Regions from separate parts of the Homo sapiens genome. Here region 2 is linked to region 1. Evidence: promoter capture Hi-C in 16 types of primary human blood cells and fetal thymus (Javierre and others, 2016). All regions are on one chromosome and are shown on one strand. The core of a region is centred on a gene start or on the middle of the fragment in contact, and the rest is flanking DNA. Distances in the headings are between cores, read along the strand shown.

What was found. The method cuts DNA at HindIII sites, captures the fragments that hold promoters and counts their contacts. A CHiCAGO score of 5 or more calls a contact.
Region 2: a contact is called between a fragment that was not itself captured here and the fragment with the promoter of MED17 in region 1, in 2 of 17 cell types (naive CD8 T cells and total CD8 T cells). The highest score is 8.0, in naive CD8 T cells.

The regions. Positions count from the first base shown.
Region 1 is chr11:93,782,360-93,786,525 of GRCh38, forward strand. MED17 (mediator complex subunit 17) reads left to right here and starts at 1,923. Exons shown (of 12, transcript NM_004268.5): 1 at 1,923-2,404. The coding sequence starts at 2,155. RefSeq lists enhancers at 1,744-2,038, 1,980-2,199 and silencers at 2,330-2,459, 2,461-2,655. The HindIII fragment of the contact is 2,360 bases long and covers 565-2,924 here.
Region 2 is chr11:95,063,669-95,067,834 of GRCh38, forward strand. SRSF8 (serine and arginine rich splicing factor 8) reads left to right here and starts at 3,251. Exons shown (of 1, transcript NM_032102.4): 1 at 3,251-4,166. The coding sequence starts at 3,559. RefSeq lists enhancers at 3,075-3,832, 3,557-3,746 and a silencer at 3,227-3,306. The HindIII fragment of the contact is 4,351 bases long and covers 201-4,166 here.

The sequences.
Region 1 (4,166 bases), core at 673-3,172:
TAATGTATTTATTGATTAGCTCCAAATGGAACATTTTGGCTATGTGGCACTAACCTATGACCATGGTTACTTCCAGGATAGTTAGGATGATGTTTTTCAGGTTATGCTTAATCATATATTTGAGTAGTTTGTACTTTGCCAAAACCTGCAAATTTTCCTTATTTATGATCTCATTGGGTTCATCCTGTGTTTCATTGGTATGATCACTTAGCTTCCATCTTCATACCACAACTGAGTGTTGAAGATGTTATTTGGCATATAGAGGTCCTAACCAATTATACCCAAAAGATAGCTACATAAGTATTCCATTATTAAACAATAGTTATTCTTATGGAAAAGGCCATTATTACAAAACCGTATGGCTTTTGACATACTCACCGAAGCCCAGGGAGGAACTTGCATTATCATAAAAACTGTGTGTTATGTCTGTATCCCAGATGAATCAGATAATATCACTACGTTAATGGATAATATGAAAACCTTAACAACTAACCTTTCAGATCCAACACATCTTTAAACAACTGGCTAAGCAGCTAGTTTTGATCTTGAAGACTTGGTGGCAAAAGCTTTGCTTATTCTAGGAATCATAATCATTTGTTGTTGTCTTGTTTTTGTCTGCACTATTAGACTGCCACTGCGCCTGGCTATTAATCAGATTTTAAAATAAAGTTAAAAAAAATTTTTAAACAAATTTACACGAAAAGCAAGTACAGTGGTTCTCGAACATGATTGGGCGACAGACTGTACAGCTTGCCAGAAATAGGTTTCTCTCATGAAAATTCAACCCCCTCCACACACGGCCATCTACTTTCTTCTTCAGCAGGGACTGACACCAGGGCAACCGTATTTTCCTAAATACCTTAGGAAAGTAGTTCAAAACCTAGATATATCTTGGTCAGAACAAAACCTGGCAAACACTCATGATAAACGGTATATATAATTCCTTAAACGAAATATAGAGGTTTGTAATATAAAATAATCCATCTTTGTCTGTGGAATTCCTACTAATGAAATACGTTCTTGGAGACCCAAAGACTGAAGTTATACCACTTCTTCTTAATCTTTTAAATATTATTTGCAGGCCAGGCATGGTGACACGCTCCTATAGTCCCAGCTCCTCAGGAGGCTAAGGCAGGAGCATCGTTGGAGCCCAGGAGCTCCAGGCTGTAGCGTGCTGACAGCACTTGTGAATAACCTCTGCACTCAGCCTGGGCAACATAGTGGGACCCCATCACTAATAAAAAAGCGAGATCAACATTATTTATTCTGTTACTCGGGCATAAAATAAATATTAAGCACTTACTACATGCCAGAGTCTATTATGTCTGCTGCAGATATTGGCTGTCATAGAGTTATAACTAACAGGAAACCAAATAATTACGTAGTATAATTTTAAGTGGTGATAAGCACGATTGTTTCCCCCAAGCCATGCCCTTAATTTCTAACTCTTCAGATAGTGTTTCTTTAAAAAATTTCTTGCTAATTTAAAATAACTTTTGTTTTGAGGCAGGATCCCACTCTGTTGCTTAGGCTGGAATGCAGCGGTGAGATCTCGGCTCACTGCAGCCTCCATCTCCAGGGCTCAAGCCATTCTCCCGCCTCAGCCACCCGCGTAGCTGGACCACAGGCGCGCGCCACCAGATCTCAGTTCTCTCAACAGGACTCTCATTGCTAAGATCCAAGGATCCATTAATTTCCTTTTCCTTAACTCTTCTAGCCTCTGCAGCTTTCTTTCCTCATCCACTTTTTAAACAAACGCAGGCTTAAAAAGCAAGGAATATACCCGCCACACTCTCGGCTCCCAAACCGCTCTTTCCCTCCCTCTGCCGGCCACGCCTCTTATAGGCCCGGAAGTTTACCCCACCCTGCACCGTGATTCACCGGAAGCGCTCTAGGGAACCCTGGAGCTTCCGCGCCTGCCCAGTTTTGCTCCGAAAGACTTACCGAGGAGGGAGCTTGCGGTGCGTTCTGGGAAAGTTGCTGGGCCAGCTCCTTTGTTTCCAGTCTGAGCGTTGCGTTCGGTTTCCCGAGGGTCTTCTGAGGCACCGCGGCTGCGGGCTTCTGAGTTCCCGGCTCTCCGCAGGGAAGCCTCCTCTTCGTACCTCGTTTTTTGGCTCGTGGGGGGTCCTCCCACCGCTGGCCGACGCAGCCAGCATGTCCGGGGTGCGCGCAGTGCGGATCAGCATCGAATCGGCCTGCGAGAAGCAGGTCCATGAGGTGGGCCTGGATGGCACCGAGACGTACCTGCCCCCGCTGTCCATGTCGCAGAATCTGGCGCGTCTGGCCCAGCGGATAGACTTCAGCCAGGGTTCGGGCTCCGAGGAGGAGGAGGCGGCGGGGACCGAGGGCGACGCGCAGGAGTGGCCGGGCGCCGGGTCCAGCGCAGACCAGGACGACGAGGAAGGTAAGGCCTGCATCCGCTGCCCGAGTCCCCCGGTCTGGGTCCCAGCACCCGCGCGGGCCTCCGCCTCTCCCGCGATGGGGGTGATCTTGTGCGTGCGAGAACTTTTGAGTGTCCCTCTAGCGGAAGCGTAAGGATACTTGGTCGTCATCTTTTTGTTGCTGCCGGACAAGGTAGGACACGACTTTACGTAATACTCCTGCGGGTCTCCTTGAATGGCAGCGTTTAGAGACACTGTCAAACCGTGAAATGTTTAAATGAATGCTTCTCTGTAGAGGGCCTTTAATGTAGCACACTTAGTGGCTAAAAGAGCCCTAGATCGGGGCTCTGCCCCTTGCCGGCTGTGTGACCTTGGGCGAGTTACTTTGCATCCTTGTGCGGTGTGAATGATGATAGTAGCACCTGCAGAAAAGAGGTCTGTTTTGACTGAAATGTGTGACGAGGTCCAAGAGGTAGGCGGGTCCAGATCATGTAGAACCCAGTAGGCCGGGATAAGCGTTTGACTAGTGTTAAGACCACTGAAAGCTTTTGCAGGATAAGTAGAGATGGTTTTGTTAAAGTTTACTCTAGATGCTTTCTAATAAATGAATTATAGGGAAAGCAAAACTGGAAGGGAGGAGACTAGGAGGGAAGTGAAGAAATAATGAGTGGGTTTCAGATTCTCATTATTGTCAAGGATTTTTGAAAAAAAAATCAAAATTCTTAATTTAGTTATGCAGCACACCCAGTGTAAATGGGAATTTAAAGATGTCATTTCAGGGCAGTGCTGTTAGGATTATTAGGGGTCTATTTGCAAAAAAAGGTAAATACTACTTTATACCTCACACAAAAATTATTTCCACAGTAATTTTTGAGGATTGAAGTGCCAAATGAAGAAAGTAAAACAAAGTGTTAGAAGAAATAATGAAAGAATAGTTGTATTATTCTGGGAGTCGGATAGATCTTCTTAATTTCGGAAATAACAGGACAGGCATGGTGGCTCACACCTGTAGTTCCAACATTTTTGGAGGCCAAGGTGGAAGGATCACTTGAGCCCAGACTTCAAGACCAGCCTGAGCAACATAGGGAGCTCCTGCCTCTACAAATTAAAAAAATTAGCTGGGCGTGGTGGTGCACGTCTGTGGTCCCAGCTACTGGGGAGGCTGAGGGAGGAGGATGGATTCAGCCAGTGAGATCAAGGCTGCAGTGAGCTATGATTGTGCCACCGCACTCCAGCCTGGGTAACAGAACAAGACTCTAACATCCACACACACAACCACACACCTACCTACCTTACAAAGTATAGATATATTACTTACATAAAATTTAAAAATAATGGGAAAAGATGCCATAAGCAAAGTAAAAAGATAAATGACAGACTGGGAGAAGTTCTACACATATAACACAAATTTAGTTGATATCTTCTCTATTCAAAAAGTCCCTTCAGACTGAAAAGAAAATAATGACACTTTGGAAAAATAGGCCAAAGGTATCTGAAGGCTCATAGAGGAGAGACTTCAGATACCAATAAACAGAACATAGACTCAATCTCATTACTAGGGACTGGGAAATTAAAACATGATTAAGATACTCTTTCCATGCACAAAATTGACAGAAATTGAAAAGATTGTTAATATTCAGGGTTAGGAATGTGAACTGGTAGTGATTCTGAAAGACAATTTGGCAGTTTAATATGTGCCAACATTTAATTTTAACTTTTTTTGGTTTGTTTTGTTTTTTTTTTTGAGATGGAGTCTTGCTCTGTCGGCCAGGCTGGAGTGCAGTG
Region 2 (4,166 bases), core at 1,126-3,625, 1.3 Mb after region 1:
AACTATAGTAATACTGTATTATTATAAGAATTTTGTAGCCTCTTCCTTTTGCCATTGCAGTGAGCTCGTGTGGTGAGTATCCTCTTAAAATGCTGCAGGATGCTAATCATCTCTGCCTGAGCAATTTTTTTCTCTCTGGTAAATTGTCTATCACAGTAAAAAGTGATCTCTTGAGTATCATGTTTAGGGCAATATCCTAAAGCTTGAATAATACTATGGGGCCCAGACGAAGTGCCACTAGTGATGCTGGAAATGTTCCCAAGAAGCAGAGAAAAGTCACGACAGTATAAGAAAATGTTGAATTGCTTGATGTGTAGGGTACATTGAGGTCTGCAGTGAGGTTGCCAGCCATTTCAGACAGGCTATTCATCTTGTAAATGGTTAAGGTATCCATAAATATAGTACAGTATAGTAAATACATTTTCTCCTCCTTATGATTTTCTTAAAAACATTTTCTTTTCTCTAGTTTTCTTTACTGTAAGAATCCAGTATTTAGTACATGTCACATACAAAATCTGTGTTAATCAACCGTTGATATCTGTAAGACTTCCAGTCAACAGCAGGCTCTTAGTAGTTCAGTTTTGGGAGGAGTCAAAAGTATTTGAGGAGTTTCAACTGCACAGGGATTCAGCACCCTGAATCCCCTCATTGTTCCAGGGTCAACTGTACATGTATCTGTGTCTGGTCTCAGTATCTGTGCTTAGAGGTACTGTTGATATCAGCTCAAATATTACAGTTTGATAAGGGAGAAGTCTTTTTTTTGTTTTAAGGCATCATTTTGGGGGTTGTCATTTAAATATTTGACTCTAACAGTGCTAGCTCTACCGCCTTGAACAAGTGACTTAATGTCTCAATGACTCAGTTCTGTCATCTGAAAATTAGAGGTATGAATCTTCTTATAGGTCATAAGAATTAAATGATTTATTGTACCAAGAGTAAACCGAACAGTGTTTGCCATGTTATAGTCACCAGGTATGTTAGCTATTTTAAATAATATTTTACTATTAGAAATAAAGAGGGACTTCTGTTCATCAAAAGATATGAAAAAAAGAGAGAAATGACAAACCAAGGAGTGTGAACTGATATTGTATTACTCATATCCAGCAAAGAGCTGATATCCATTATATATAAAGAGCTAGTGCAGAGAACGCCAACCCAATAGAAAAATGGACAAAATACATAATAGGCAGCTTATGAGTAAGAATACCCAAATGGCCAATGAACGTGAAAAAATTACTCACTCTCATTTGCAGTTAGGGAAATGAATTTTTTTTTTTTAAGTTTTAAGTGACAAAATCTCACTGTGTCACCCCAGGCTGTTGTGTGGGGACGAAATCACAGGTAAAACAAATCTTAATGCCCTCACCTAACTGGCTAAAACTAAAAAGTCTGATATTCACCAAAGGTTTGCAAAAGTGAAGAGCACTGAGCACCCTCATACACAGCTATCCTGTGTGTAAATTGATAAAAACTGTTGAAAAACAATCAGGCATGGTAAAGTTTGAATTCACATACAGTTGTCCCTTGATATTCTGCAGGTGGATGGGGTTTGGTCCTTAGTAACCCCTGAGGATTCTGAGGATTTTCAAGTCCATATATAAAATGGCTTGGTATGAGCATGTAACCTATACGTATTTTCCAACATACTTTAAGTCATCTCTAGATTACTTACATTATGATGAAAATGCTATGTAAATAATTGTTTACTGTATTATGTTCTATTTATTTTTATTGTTTTTTTTTTCTGAATAATTTCTACCCACAGTTGGCTGAATTCACTGATGCTGAAGCCAGAGGTTACAGTGGGCTGCCTGTATTCTGTGACAAGGGATCCATTCATACCTAAGAGGACACATGAGCTCCAGTATACATGTCCAAGCATGTTCTGAGCAACACTGTAAGAGGCCAAAAGTGGAAACAACCCAAGTGCCCATCAACAGCACAAACATTTATACCATTGAATGCCTTACGGCAAGGTAACAGGATCAAGTACAGCTACATGGAACACATAGATGAGGGAAATAAAACACAAAATACATTAAAATATAAAAAGCACAATTCTATGTATATAAGGTTACATAACATTTTCAAAATCAGCAACGTTTTAATTAATTTAATTAATTTAGAATTCTCCTGCAGAGGAGTTTTCTCTCTTTTCTCCAATGTGTTAATTTATTTAATCATTTATTTACAACAGCACAGATTAATATTTATTTTATATTTTGGAATATGATATAGTAGTATTTTAGTTTGTTCCTTAAATTGTTCAAGATTTGGCCATTGGGAGCTGTTTTATTGGTTTTTGTACCCCTCTAAAATTACCCCATCAATGCTTTTGTTTGTTTTCTATTTATCACATCCTTATTTTCCAGCACTCCAAGATGCTCTAGGCCCTTTCTGTATATTTCCTTTCCAGATTTAGAAACTGTATTTCTTCATCAGTATTGCTAGATTGTTTTTTTCTTTAAAAGTGTTAGATTTCAGTTTTATTAATCATCTTTTTAAAAAAACATATTGTCCCTTTTATTTGTAATTCTATTTTTATTTTAATGTTTTATTTTTTGTTTTGGTTTTGTTTTACTAATTGCTTGACTTCAACATAAAAAAAGTTTTAGAAATGTGGTTATTAATTTTCAAGTAAATATGATTGGATTCAGGTTTTTTATTTTTAACCTTCAATATTATTTCACTGAGGTCCAGATGTGCTGAATTTATTGACCTATTAAATTTTAATTGACATTTATTTTGTAGTCTTGTATTGGGAAATTCTTCTGTTTTCTATATATTTTTGGTTGTTGCAGGTTATATGATCAAAATTGTTGTTTGTTGTGCAAATTATTATAGCATTACTAGTTTTGTTCTCTGCACTATTGATTTCTGAGAAAACGGTGTTACGGGGAAAAAACAAACTTCCATCATGAGTGCAGATTTTTCAGTTTTACCTTATAACTCTCAGTCTTGGCTATGTGTCACTGTTATGTGTTTAGGTGCGTTAAGTTCATCACTGTAATGTTTTCCTAGTGAATTTTCTTTTCAATAACTATGAAATGTGCTCCTTTGATCCTATCAATACACTGGATATTAATATTGTTGCCCTAGGTTTCTTTTGTTTAATATTTGTCTGGATTGCCTGTTCCCATAAATTGACCTTTAATCAGTTAGCTTTGTTCTTAAGATTGGTTTAAAACGTAGAATAATAGGGAGGAGCATGGGAGGGTGGGACGTCTAATGTAAATCCAGCCCAGTGATTACATTAGCTGGGCGCTGATTAGGTTAGGATGTTGCCCAGGTACAAGGCCAGGATCTTCGGGGCCTGGCTTCATTTGGAGTTCAGCTACCAAAAGGAAACCTTCCTCTGGGTCCTGGAGTATTTGGCCTGAAATTGGGAACTCGGAAGTTGCTGCTCCAGGGCGCTCCCTGCGGAGCTCCGCCGCCCGCCTCTCCGCCCGGCCTTTCCCGGCGTCCCCACGCGGGGCGCAACCGCGAGAAAGAAACGCAGGTCGCACCGTCAGCGCCCAGAGCAGCGCCAGTTTCCGGGCCCGGGCTGCTCTCGGAGCCATGAGCTGCGGCCGCCCCCCTCCCGACGTGGACGGCATGATCACCCTCAAGGTGGACAACCTGACCTACCGCACCTCTCCCGACAGCTTGAGGCGCGTGTTCGAGAAGTACGGGCGCGTGGGCGACGTGTACATCCCGCGGGAGCCCCACACCAAGGCGCCCCGGGGCTTCGCTTTCGTCCGCTTTCACGACCGGCGCGACGCCCAAGACGCCGAGGCCGCCATGGACGGGGCGGAGCTGGACGGACGCGAGCTGCGGGTGCAGGTGGCGCGCTATGGCCGCCGGGACCTGCCCCGCAGCCGCCAGGGAGAGCCACGCGGCAGGTCCAGAGGCGGCGGCTACGGACGGCGGAGCCGCAGCTACGGGCGGCGGAGCCGCAGCCCCAGGCGGCGACACCGCAGCCGATCCCGGGGTCCCAGCTGCTCCAGGTCCCGCAGCCGATCTCGCTATAGGGGTTCTCGCTATAGCCGGTCTCCCTACAGCCGATCTCCTTACAGCCGGTCGCGCTACAGCCGCTCTCCCTACAGCAGATCTCGCTACAGGGAATCTCGCTACGGCGGATCTCACTACAGCTCATCTGGTTACAGTAACTCTCGCTACAGCCGATA